Linked DNA regions of Homo sapiens: regions 1 and 2 are each linked to region 3. The links are contacts of gene promoters, found by promoter capture Hi-C in human tissues and cell types (Jung and others, 2019). All regions are on one chromosome and are shown on one strand. Each heading gives the region's core, a stretch centred on a gene start or on the middle of the fragment in contact. The rest is flanking DNA. Distances are from core to core; before and after follow the strand shown. Region 1 has its middle 40 kb from the start of LINC00908. Region 2 overlaps ZNF516 (zinc finger protein 516). Region 3 holds the start of LINC00908 (long intergenic non-protein coding RNA 908).

Region 1 (4,717 bases), core at 2,140-4,639, 41 kb after region 3:
TGGAATTCAGGGAGCAATTCTAGCTAGGAATAGTAGGGAGATAAAGATTTGTTGTTGTTGTTGTTGTTGTTGTTTGTTTTTTTGAGACAGAGTCTCACTCTGTCACCCAGGCTGGAGTGCAGTGGCGCGATCTCGGCTCACTGCAAGCTCCGCCTCCCGGGTTCAAGTGATTCTCCTGCCTCAGCCTCCCGAGTAGCTGGGACTACAGGCGTCCACCACCAGGCCCGGCTAATTTTTTGTATTTTTAGTAGAGACGGGGTTTCACCATGTTGGCCAGGATGGCCTCAATCTCTTGACCTTGTGATCCGCCCGCCTCGGCCTCCCAAAGTGCTGGGATGACAGGCGTGAGCCCCCGCGCCCTGCCATGACGGGACTTTCTGACGTGGCGCTGTGTCTGGGCTCGCCCTTTCCTCGGATCCCACCTCTCCGGAGGACGGGGAGAGTGCTGGGTAATCCTGGGAGTTCCTAAAAGCCAGCACAGAAGGCAGGGGTTTCTTTCTCTGGGGGACTTCGGAGGAGGTGGCCACTGGTCTGAGAAAGTCTAAGTGTAGGTTGGGACTTCGGTCAACTGGGACTTAACTATGCCACTCAAACTGGTGTGCATGCAATGCCACTTCTGCTGGGTCTGAAGAGGGAGGCCCTGCACCAAGGCCACGTTCATAAGACACAGGGTGGAGAAGAGAGATGGCATCCCATGGGGAGAGCTTGTCTCCCAAAGACTGGTCCATCTGTTGAAAGAGGCTGTCCTCTCCCCTTATTTCCTGAGGAGCTGCCCAGGAGGGCTCCCTGCTTCCCTCTGGCCTTCACATTGGCCACCGGGACCAGGAGGAGCCCTCCCTCTTCCCTTCCCCTACCTGTCTCTCTCTCTCTGTCTCTCTCTCTGTATCTCTTTGTCTCTGTTTCGCTCTGTCTCTCTCTCTATGCCTCTCTCTGTCTTCCTCTTTCTGCTTCTCGTTGTCTTTCTCTTTGTTTCTGTCTTTCTGTCTTTCTCCCTCTTTCTGTCTCTCTCCCCCATTCCCCCGTCTCTCTGTCTCTCTTTCTTTGTCTCTCTCTCCTTCTCTCTGTCTCTCTCTCACTGTCTCTGTCTCTGTCTCTTTCTGTCTCTGTCTCTCCCAATCTCTTTGTCTCTCTCCCTCTCTCTGTCTCTCTCCCCACCCCCACGTCTGTCTCTTTCTCTGTCTCTTTCTCCTTCTGTCTCTCTCTCTCTCTGTCTCTCTCTCTCCCTGACGGTGTGGTGCATTCTCTGACCCTCCCCTCCCCTCCTTACCTTTATGACTGGCAGGTGGAGAGACAGCTAGTGACTCTTCTGTGGCCCATCTTGGGATGTGGCCCTGGGCAGTACTCACTGGAGGTGGACAGGACAGCACTTGCCCCTGAGGGCCCAGCAGTCGGCTCAGGTCGCCCGTGTGCATAGAGAGGTGGAAGGTCAGCTTCCACTTCTGTGTTGGTTTCCCTAGACTCTGCCACAACAGAGCATCACAGAGCGCGAGTCCTAAACAAGAGGAATTTATTCCCCCACAGGTCTAGGGAGGAGAGGTCCAAGATCAAGGACCGAAGGTGGGTTCCTCCCGAGGGCAGGGTGGGAGAATCTTTCCAGGTGCCTCTCCTAGTTTCTGGTGGCTGCTGGCACTCTTGGGCATTCCTTTGTGTGAGGAAGCATCCCCTGGTCCCTGCCTTCATCTTCACAGGGCCTTCCTCCTATGCGCATGTCTGTCCCCGTAGCCACATTTTCCCTTTCCATAAGGACACAGTCATATTGGATTAGGGCCCACCCTATTGACCGCATCTTAACTTGATCATCTGCAAAGATGCTATTTCCACAGAAGGCCACACGCACAGATATTGGGGAAATCATCCAGCCTGCAATGACTGCCAAGGTGTGCTCTGCGCCTGGCTCGCCTGGGAGGAGCTCCAGAACATGGGGCAGAGGCCACTCAGGTCGGGAACAGACAGTAACACACCCCCTGCAGATGCCCTACCGTTTGGCCTATGATCCTTGGATCAGGGCAGCGATGCGTGAAGGTGGATATTATTATGACTCTAAAACCACACTGCCGTCCTGCCCCCAGGTCCACCTCAGAGCTAAAAGGGCCCCTTGATGCAGTTCTTGGGGCACCCGTGGTGACAGCCCACTGGATGAACCCACAATGCACCCCACACTGCGCTGGGCTCGAGCATCCTTGCTGTGAGGGTCCCCCTGCCTGAGCAGATCTCACCCTGCAGATGAGAGACACGTGTCTACCACCTAGCCAGGATGTGCAGAGGGGTGGCTGGGGTCTCAGTGGAAGGGAAGGTGGCTGCTGTCTTTCCTAGGGCTGGGAGCTTTGAAAAAGGGAAAAACACTCACTCCGCTGAATGCAGCTCTTGGGGGACTGGTGGGCCAACCCACAGGATAAGAACTGCATTGCAGGGGCCGGAGCCCAGGATAAGGTTCACAGTGCATTCTGAATTTCCACCTAGCATGGGCTCCAAGCACTGCGCTTGAATTTGAAATATCAAAAGTATCGGACCTCGTGGAATTGATACATAGGTGAAGCACTTTTCTTTCTTGGTTGGCAGAGTATAAAGTTCAGTAGTATTTGCCTGCGCATGACTGTCTTTTTCAAATGAGGAGGGGAGTGGGAGGCATGGAAAGGAGATGGTTTGTTCCTAACAAACTACATTCCAGAATGTTCTCTCCAAGGTTGGAGCCCTTCCTTGGCTGGAAAGCTGTGTGACTCTCCCATACTCTGAACAGGGCCATCTTCATGGCAGGCTTGCGGCTGCAGTCTTTCCTGTGGATTTGCACCAGAGCTGTTTGTACCAGGGGCTTGTTGCAACTCATCTTGCAAGGGGAAATCCAAAACTCAGAAATGACACAGCATTTTAGAGTTGGTGGCAAGGCAGGAATAGGATAATGGAAGAGAGATTCAAGGTCCACACAGCACTTAGTGTTTTGTTGTTTTTTTTTTAACTTAACTTATTGGGGGAATAAACTATTAGATTTTTATAACATATACTTTGGGTTGTTTGTTTGTTTTGAGATGGAGTTTCGCTCTTGTTGCCCAGGCTGGAGTGCAATGGTGCGATTTCAACTCACTGCGACGTCCTCCTCCCGGGTTCAAGCTATTCTCCTGCCTCAGCCTCCGGAGTAGCTGGGATTACAGGCATGCTCCACCATGCCTGGCTAATTTTAGTAAAGACGGGGTTTCACCACACTGGCCAGGCTGGCCTCGAACTCCTGACCTCAGGTGATCTGCCCACCTCAGCCTCCCAAAGTGCTGAGATTACAGGCGTGAGCCACCGTGCCCAGCCTGTAACATATATCTGGACTCATAGGGCTCATGATAAAATGTGGGAGGTTCTGAGTTCCGCGACTCCTCCCCGGCTGCTTTCTGATCTTTTCCTTGTGCTTCCACAACCCGCTCCCTCCAATGAGGTGGAAAGTGTGGGTATGACGGAGTGGCCTCCAGCCACTGGGGGAAACTCTCCTGCAGTGAACATGGCTTGTAGCCAGGTCAGAGAGACTGTGGGGTCCATGGCATGGTGGCAACTTCTAGCAAGAATTAGAAGGAGAGACACACCCACAGGTCACGTTCACTTGTTGGCTGAGAGCAGTTTTCCTGGCTCATGTGCAGAGTGTCAAGGTTAGCAGACCTCAATGCCATTGGTAAATCCCTTCGCAATGTTTGAATGAGGAGAATCCCATAGCTGCACAGCTGATTTATTCCGTTTGTCGTTGGTGTCGTCATCATCACTCTCTGTTTTCCAGTCCTCATCTCTGGCTTTGTGCATTAGGATGAAAGTCCTGAAATGCAGTGTGAGTCTGGGCTCTGACATGTGGGCTCTGGTGAAAGTTGGCACGCAAGTGACTCCACCTGTGGGCTCTGGCATCCTCAGTCTGAACATGAAAGGACTAACACCTTTGTCTATGACCCAGAATGGCTGTGGGAATTAAACAAGATGAAAATAGGTGGAAATCGAAGCTTTTCAGTTTGCCCCCTAGAACGGACGCTGAGACCAGTGTGTGTGCTGGGGAGTTACAGGCCTCACTCTCAGGACGAAGCCTGCACTGAGTGAAGAGGGAGCCAAGGGAGGAGTCTAACCGGCCAGCAGCTGCAGCCAAGGCCTCTGCCCATTCCGTGGGAGTTCTGGACCTGGGGTTGGTGGGGGGGCCTTCAGAGTGGCCCCAAACAAAGGCAAAGGGACGAGCCTTTGTACCCGCCCTGCAGGCTGTTCAGTGGAGATGATGCAGCCTCGGTGAGGCCACAGCTTTGCATATGTCCATTTCAAATACAACAGCAAAGCTTACAGGCAATTTGGGATTTCATGAAGTCAATGAAAGTGACGTTGGAGAATTGCTCAGGACTTTCCCACGGTCACTGGCACACGGTTAACTATAATTAGCAATTAAAGAGCAAGTAATCACCATGGAAAGTGGCACAACAGCATTAAGAGATCTGCATCCGCACAGCTCCGGTTAAAGACGCCTTTGAGAAAGATGATACAGCGATGCAAGAGTGTTGCAGACATGGCCTTTCGTGGGGGAGCGCTGTAAGCTGGGGGGGTGTCTCATCCTGCTGGCTTAGAGTTTTGTTGGAAAAATTACACCAGAAAAACAGTAACACTGGAAGCCTTCTTTGCTGAATCTAAGGATTATTGCATAATTATAACTTAAATTTTGTATAAACTAAAATAAATTTATATAATTCGGTTTTATTTGGTTTCAAGGTAAAAC
Region 2 (4,202 bases), core at 1,591-4,090, 43 kb before region 3:
TGACCATTGGAAAGAAAGGAGGAGAATGCACACTTTCCTGGGTTCAGCTCTCTGGGGTCCCCAACACCTCCTCTTTGTGGCCATCTTGTCCCCTGGCACCAAAGCTGAGCTCAGAGGAAAGCACCTGCCATGATCCACTCTGTCTCTGCCGCCTCCCTGCCCACTCCTGTGGGAAGCTCCCTCTCGGCATCTGTCCGTCATCAGCATCTGTCCGTCATCGGCATCTGTCTGTCACGGGTCATCTGCCGCACCACACTGAGAACCCATGAGTGCCAAATGTCCCCCGTCAGCTGGCCCACCCGCATTTCATCTTCCTGGCTTAAGAAGGTGAGTCTCAGGGCCCAGCCGTCTATCAGAACTGACCTGGTCTTCTCCGACCCCTTTCCCTATGATTTTTTGGTGGCTTTTTTCTTTTAGGATTTTCTATATCCCACGTTGGTCACTTACACTCTGTATTTACTCTCTTATAAAAATATGTTACTATTGGTGATAACCATTGGGTTTCGCAAGAAAACCTGTATCCTGGCACCCACTGCGGGGCTGGGAATCTGCGCAGATAGCTGCCTGGTCTTTGGTGACCAGATTTTCCACGTTCCTCCTTGAGCGCTGCCATGTGACAGCAGCCTCAGACAGCAACAACTGGTCCAGTGCCCAACTCGCACGACATCCCCGTGGAAAGACGCAAACATTTACTCAACATGTTTCTTCTCTGTGGAGCAAGCTCTAAGCATCCAAGCAAAGCTGAAGGGGGGCTCTCCCTACACTGCCCTAAACACCTGGTTATTTGCCAGGTCCACACTTGGCAGTGCTAACTCAGCATGACAACACGCTTACCAAGTTCCTTTTCAGAGTGGACTTTCACCTCCCCTTATTCTGTGCATTCAGCACAGCGTATGGAGAAAAAGGCTAAGCTGGGAATCAGGACGCCTGGATTTGAGCTCTGCACCATTCCTGTGGCCTTGGCTCAGTTATTAAATCTTTCTGCATTTCAGTACCTGTAAAATGTCAGGATTCACTCAAAAATCACCTCCAAGTTTCCTGCAGTTATAACACATATATGATTGTCTATATTAACCTTCTAAAACAAGCCCAAATACAAATAATGTAAGTTTACAAAGAAACATAAACAATCACGAAAGCAAATGCTTTCCTTCACGGTCATTACACCAAGTCAATGTAACACTCCTAACGATATAACACCGTGCTCTAAAATGGCGGCCGCCCTAACCCCGCTCGGGCCAAGAAGGTGCAGTTTCATCACCTACCACCTTGTAGGAATCTAAATGGAGTTTTCGTGGGTCCAAAACATGTAAAATGCTTTCCAAAATGGTCTACTATTCCCCTGGACGGGATTTAAGGATTGCCTAAAACACACACTCTCGACGGCCCCCTTAATGTTCACAGCTAAGCAAAAAACCTGGTTTGTAAATCATCTCCCACACACATATAAAATCCCAAATTCTAACTGTAATAACTTTCTTTTTAATCAATACCTATACTTTAAAATATGTAAATATTAGGAAAATCAACCTTACTTTCTAAAGTTCAAATTCTTAGCAGCCCATAATCTTTCATCAACCTAGAAAATAACTGATAAGCCAATCTTCCTGTGAAACCATTAACAGATTCTGCTTTTCTGTCACCAGGGTAATTTACCGAGGCTAATTTTAATCCTACCACTAAACCACTAATCGCATGACTCTACAGAATTGTCCCCAAGTTTACGTTGCTACGGCAAGCACTTTTACATTAGGAATTCACTTATTTATTAACACTTTTATTTTTTAAGTTGGTTTTAGGAATGAGATCGTCTTGCTTGCCTCTCATTTTAAAAAGTAAAAAGCCATTTTTGAAAAAAGGAAGCTACTTGAGCACCTGGGGTTGCACTGCACTCAACACAATAACGTTAATTTAAATTATGCTTGGTGTTACTCAAAGGGACAAATTATCATCATTATGCTAATGGTCATGCTAAAGACATGAAAAGCTTTGAAATGATTAATCTAAATCTGGGGGGAATATGATTATCAATGTGAATGATGGTATTTTCTCAAACTGGCATAAAAATGTTCTGTCTGTGTCACTGATAATGTCAATATAAATGATGCATCACCAAAGGCAACGTGCACTCACACGCTCTTCGCTCACGTTCTCGAAGCAAAGCCCCAGCCCACCTTTCAGTCCACATATGCCTTGCTTTGGGGACACACGTGTGGATGAATAGAAATTTGTTTACTTCTTTCGTAAAACAGAGAAAACAGGATGATTAAAGCCAACAAGACTGAGACAACGAGAGAGAGGTGTCTGGAGACACATTTGCTTTGGTGTCGACTCGACAGCCATACAGAATGTTAAAAATGGAGGTGGAATCTTCTGTGGGGTTCCATACTAATAAATTCCTGCAACATGGCATAAGAGCCACCCTGTGAATTCAACACAGGTCTACCCAAAAACCCAAACCAGCATGTGTAAACAAAACACAGCCTAAGTGAAAACATCTCAGTTCTGCCTGTAGATAATTCCAGGGCCGCACCACAGAAGCTCAGGGGAACTATTAAATAGGATTGTCCATTTGTTCATTAACTCATTTCTTTAAAAAAAAAAAAAAAAGATGGGGACAAAAGCTGAGTCTTTTTGACAAAAATAATAATAATAATAAACATACTTTTTTGCTCTAGGTTAAAATCACCAGAATAATCAGGAACTAAACAGTGAATCTTCTCTTTCTGACCTGCCCAACTCTTAGCCTTATTTGTGACCCCCAGAAGTCTTAACTACTTATATTCAAGTCTGTGTTTTCCTGAATTAACAGTCACTCAGCATTGAATGGCAAACTATTTCTCACAAAAATTGTATCGGTGGAAAAAAAGTGAAACTTGTTCACTACACCCTTAAGTATCAACTGAGAAAGAATCTGCTAAAGCCACAAACGACCATTCTGTACAACTTTCAATGCATCATTTACTGTACTAAATTTCAAAGAACATTCTCGAATGCTAAAATAAATCAATGCCCAAACACAGTGTCTTGTCAGCTCATGCAATATAGGTTAAATAGTACCATATGGCAAAGACAGACACATGTTGCCCTTTTCTGAAACAAAAAAATTCCTAAACAAATGTCCTTTACTTTCACATGGGAAGAGTGGGGGATTAGAGAGTTCTTCAAGTGTTAATAGCGCTGAAAAATTTTTAATTCTTAGCCATTAACAAGAAATTATAGTTTTAATAGAGAACCTTGATTTTTTAAGCCTGTCTTTAACTGTGTCCTGAAAACTAACACCACATCTTCCTCTACGCACACCATCTCCTAAAAAAGCAAGAAAATAACAGGACAGCTGTATCCTGGAGGCTGAGCCAGCACCAGCAACTCCCCAGGGCGGTGAGAGACGTTGTCTACCTGGTTTTGAAGGAAAAAAAAAAAAAAACACCAGATTCCCTCTGCCTTGAAGATAACAAAACACACTAAGATTTCATCCCATTTTCACCACTCAGTTGAGGAACTGTCTGGATTTCACAATTACATACGATATACATCTCTTCTCGGCCCAGTAAATTCTGAGATTCTATAGACTTTACTTACTTCCTGACCAAGGTTCGGGGGGAAGGTACAGAAACAGGAATACGAAGTAAATCTACCAGAATTAACACAGAGTTAAAATACAGTATATGGTAAGATGTATCTAAACCTACTATAGTTGTCTTTTAAATAATTTTTCCTACTCTCCTGCTTGTGTTTTAGTCATCACTTAACATATATTTACATGTTTGCTTTCTAAAAATAGTTGCATTTCTAATTACTCCTGCTTTGTAATTTTCAGTACCATTTGAATTAAAGATTAAATGCCAGATCTTTTTTGGAAATGACTTTTAAGGCATGTTGAGAGCCACAAATTACACTGCTTTACAATTCGAATGTATACCATCGGAAAACATCTCAGGCTAGACATAAATACGATGATGGCTCTAGCTTTGGAAAGAGAAGCTTCAGCTGTTCAAGTCACGTGTGGCCAGATGCAGAGCATAAGGAATGCAAAACAGACAGTTGCAACTGCTGGTTTTTACCAGTCCATCTAAAATACACTTCGTACACTGTAGTGGATGCTAGAAATTTCAAATACAAATGATGCATTTATAGCCCCTATAAATATATCCTTCCTTATAGCTATTTAAGTCATTCCCCTAAAATATTCTTCAGTTAGA
Region 3 (4,229 bases), core at 91-2,590:
GGAGACACCACTCAAGTCTCCATAATGAGGGACAATTTCAGGCTGGGACAACATGGTGGAGGAAGGACCTCTTCAGAGAGGAAGTGCACGTAAGGGGCAAGGACCCTAGAAAGACCTGTGGGACCTGTGGAGAGTATGCACGTCCTTCAGATTGAGGCTGGTTTGAGGCCGGGTGCCATGGCTCACGCCTGTAATCCCAGCACTTTGGGAGACCAAGGCAGGCGGATCACCTGAGGTCAGGAGTTCGAGACCAGCCTGGCTGACAAGGTGAAACCCCGTCTCTACTAAAAATACAAAAATTAGCCGGGCGCGGGGGCACACACCAAAAAAAAAAAAAAACAAACCTGGGCTGAGTGCAGAAATCAGTCCAATCCAGGGAGAAATCTGGCAAATACTCTTGGCCAGCTCCTGTTTTTCTGAAAACATAGGTGCCAGAAGAGCATCCGGTAGCAGCTGCCAAGTTCAATACTAGGACTCCACTCCACAGACAATTCTGTCACCCCATTGTGGGTGTCCTGGATGCCCAGAAAACCCACATCTCTTGATAAAGTCCTCCTGTGGTAAGTCTGCAACCCCTCTGCACCCAGCCCCTCTGCTGACACCCCCTCTGCACCCTGCATCTTTGCCAAGTGGGGAGAGATGCATTCCAGAACTCCAGTGGCAGGATCTGCCCTTGCCGGGATCATGCAGACTTGGCATTTTCCAGTACCTACTGTTGCTTGAGGTTTCTTATAATAGAGCAGGATGAGCAACACGACTTCTCGTTTTGTAATTTGGCACATATGTATATGTTTTATACATACATGCTATGTGTCTATATGTACACACGGCAATACATACGTGTATATGTATACGTATATATGTATGTCAACGAATACCTAAATATATAATCATATGAAACAAACTGTTTATCCCTGTTCCATAAACTTCATATCAATTCAATAAATAAAATTTATTCAAAATCCAATCATCCCAACACATTAACATTTAATTTTTCCCTATTTTCTGTCTGTGTTTGTCATTGAATATTAAAAGTTTTGCTTTTTTTTACTATTTCACCTCTTTTCTAGGTAGTCCATAATTTTAAAACAATATATATGGCACCACTTGGTCTTCACAGCTTTCAAGACAGGACTGTCAAGGCAAGGACACTCCTTAGGGGACCCTGTCCCATAAAGTCAAATTATGCGGGATGAGTCAGTGACGCAGGAGCTAAAAACAGTGTCCCTTTAAAAATGTGCATGCCTTTGAAATGGAATAAGTAAAGTACTTGCAGATGCAAATGGTTTCAAGTTTCACTGGAGACCCAGCGAAAGCGGCTGTTCTCAAAGTTGCCAGGCAGTGTGGAAACGCCCACTGAGGGGCACACAGTGAGGCGGCCACTGGCTCTGTGTCCTTGGGGAAGCCCCTTCTGCGGTCCCCTCCATTGTCTGCGTGACAAAGTGGACGTAGAACTCCCCCATTTCCTGCCCAGGGCGGGTGAGGACCCTGCACACACACGGTGTGTTTGTGAGCTGTGCAGAGTGGGGTCTCCCTGGCAATGGCCACAGCCTCCAGGGGCGCTGACACCTCCCGTCTAACTGGTAGACAGTTTCTGCCTCTTCTTGTTTGGGGATTGGAGAGGGAAGTGCGTCTGGATGACTACTAAGGTAAATATGGAATGGGCACCGCGTCTTCCCTTTCTTCTCTCCCTTCCCACGCACCTGCCTGGCTCCCCGGCTCTCCCGCCCTGGCCAGAGTCAATGTGAGCTGCAAAGTCCATATGTGAACAGCTGTGGGCAAGTCGTGCAACAGTGCTCATGGGACTTACTACGCATCTAAGCCGCTGAACTTCAGCTGGACCCCAAATGGCCTTGGTCACGTTTTGTTTCTGTTTTGTCATTTCCGGCTGCATCTCCCACAGTCTCAGCCCTGCGCTCCTTGCTCTGCCTTCTCCTCCCCACAGCTTCTTTGCAGATAACATCCTGGCCGTATTATGCAACTGAACCCATATTATCCGGGGGAAACTTACCCTCCTCTGCTCTCTAAATCTTCCTTTTCCTTCTGGTTTTGGAGAAAGAGGAGCTCCTTTCCATCAATCAGGTCAACCTCTTCCTGTTTCCTTTCTTCATTCTTCGTTATTTTCCACTCCTGAGTTTTGGACTCTTCTCTCGGTCAATAAGTATATCCGAATTCTTCCAGCTGTAAAACCAACAAATGAAAGGCCTCGTGTACCAAGGCTGCCCCCGCGTGCGGCCCCCCGGGCTGTGTGGCCTTGGCCTGGAACACAGCCCCGCTGCCACCTTCCTGCACTCCGTGGGGGAGATGGGCGGTGCACACTACCCAGAAGTGGAATGTGCATTTCACAGAAAATGACCAATTTAAGCAGAAAATTAAAGCAGAAAACGGGGTGAGAACGGCAGACGCGTGTGTGGGCACCGCAGCGTACACGCTTAGGATCCCGAGTTTATTTTTCTAGGGCCCGTGTGTTGGTGCGCATGCGCGTGCGCCCCCACCACCTGAAATCTTGGTAGTGCCTGTTAACCCGGCAGTAGACCCATGGGTGAATTTACTCTCTTCTCTGTGTCTTTCTGTATTTTCCATGCTTTCTGTGACGAACAACATCATACATACCGCTACTTCTTTTTTTGGGGGGACGGAGTCTCGCTCTGTCGCCCAGGCTGGAGTGCAGTGGCGCGATCTCGGCTCACTGCAAGCTCCGCCTCCCGGGTTCACGCCATTCTCCTGCCTCAACCTCCCAAGTAGCTGGGACTACAGGCGTCCGCCACTACGCCTGGGTAATTTTTTGTATTTTTAGTAGAGACGGGGTTTCACCGCGTTACCCAGGATAGTCTCGATCTCCTGACCTCGTGATCCGCCCACCTCGGCCTCCCAAAGTGTTGGGATTACAGGCGTGAGCCACCGCGCCCGGCCACATATCACTTCTTCTATTGTGCATTCACTGCACACCAAGCACTTCTATTGGGCGTTCACTACACACCAAGCCTAAGTAAGGGCTTTCTGTGCACGCTCTCATTTCATGCTTATGACACTCTGAGAATTAAGACCATTTTGGCCCCTGTCTTACAGATGAGGAGGCTGAGGCCTAGTGCTCCTAGCGGGCTTGGTCAAGAGCAGGAGGCGGAGGTGGTGGAAGGCTGTTTCCCTGCGGTGAGTGCTCACACGGTTGGCGGTGATTTCTCCGCAGGGTCTCACAGGCCGGTGCTCTCAGGAGCCACACCTGAAGAATGGCAGGACCCAGGGTGGGCAGAAGAGGAAGGTGAACTGAGGAACAGTTGCAACAGAGGCCTCGGCCAACCCCATGGAGGGCTCTGAATTTGAGAGCCCTGAGAGTCACTCCCCCTGAGGCAGGAGGCCAGGCGTTGCACCCATGCGCTGGCCACTCGCTGGGGACAGGCTGTGTCCAGGGAGGGTACCTGTGTTTGGGTGAGGTGCCCTTCAAGAAGGGCAGTTCCTGGAGAGTCCCCAGATAGAGGTTGTCAATAGTTGACACTTTCTGCAGCTGGCGGGACAGCGCTTGGTTGAGGGGGACTCTGGGTGGCCCACTACAGTGTCTACCACAAATGCCTACCTGCTCTCCAGGATACATTCAAATCTCGCCACCCCCAGGAGGCCTTCTTAGATTCCCATGGATCAGAATGGGCCTGGGATGCTCTCTTCCCATGTCCCTCAGGCTTGCTTGAGCTGTCTCAGGCATGACAGCTGTTGTGGGTTTGAAAGGCTCTGCCACTAGACTGTGATTCCCTGGGGAAGCAATAATCCCCTTTGGGGACATCACTGACTTCAAAACGGTTAAGGGTAAAAGGCAAAAGACCTGCCCGTTTGGGGACATCACTGACTTCAAAACAGTTAAGGGTAGGCCAGGCGCGGTGGCTCAAGCCTGTAATCCCAGCACTTTGGGAAGCCGAGGCGGGCGGATCACGAGGTCAGGAGATCGAGACTATCCTGGCTAACATGGTGAAACCCCGTCTCTACTAAAAATACAAAAAATTAGCCGGGCGTGGTGGCGGGCGCCTGTAGTCCCAGCTACTCGGGAGGCTGAGGCAGGAGAATGGCATGAACCTGGGAAGCGGAGCTTGCAGTGAGCCGAGATTGCGCCACTGCACTCCAGCCTGGGCGACAGAGCGAGACTCCATCTCAAAAAAAAAAAGGGGGGGTAATAGGCAAAAGACCTGCTTCTGTGGCCAGGCAGCGTGCCTTGGGTGTCACTTGTACCTGGCTTGGGAGTT

What was found. The method cuts DNA at HindIII sites, captures the fragments that hold promoters and counts their contacts. A contact is called where the count stands out against the background at its distance.
Region 1: a fragment that was not itself captured here is called in contact with the fragment with the promoter of LINC00908 in region 3 in 7 of the 25 tissues and cell types used here (IMR-90 fibroblasts, aorta, heart left ventricle and 4 more).
Region 2: a fragment that was not itself captured here is called in contact with the fragment with the promoter of LINC00908 in region 3 in 6 of the 25 tissues and cell types used here (bladder, dorsolateral prefrontal cortex, hippocampus and 3 more).

What each region holds. Positions count from the first base shown.
Region 1 is chr18:76,566,117-76,570,833 of GRCh38, forward strand. No RefSeq gene overlaps it. Among named protein-coding and RNA genes, the nearest start is that of LINC00908, 40 kb to the left of the region's middle. The HindIII fragment of the contact is 3,940 bases long and covers 1,420-4,717 here.
Region 2 is chr18:76,483,275-76,487,476 of GRCh38, forward strand. All of the region lies in intron 1 of ZNF516 (zinc finger protein 516), which reads right to left. Among named protein-coding and RNA genes, the nearest start is that of ZNF516-AS1, 6.3 kb to the right of the region's middle. The HindIII fragment of the contact is 4,856 bases long and covers 413-4,202 here.
Region 3 is chr18:76,527,315-76,531,543 of GRCh38, forward strand. LINC00908 (long intergenic non-protein coding RNA 908) reads left to right here and starts at 1,341. Exons shown (of 3, transcript NR_015417.1): 1 at 1,341-1,649; 2 at 3,070-3,150. RefSeq lists enhancers at 1,083-1,723, 1,724-2,362, 1,860-1,939, 2,363-3,002. The HindIII fragment of the contact is 15,253 bases long and covers 1-4,229 here.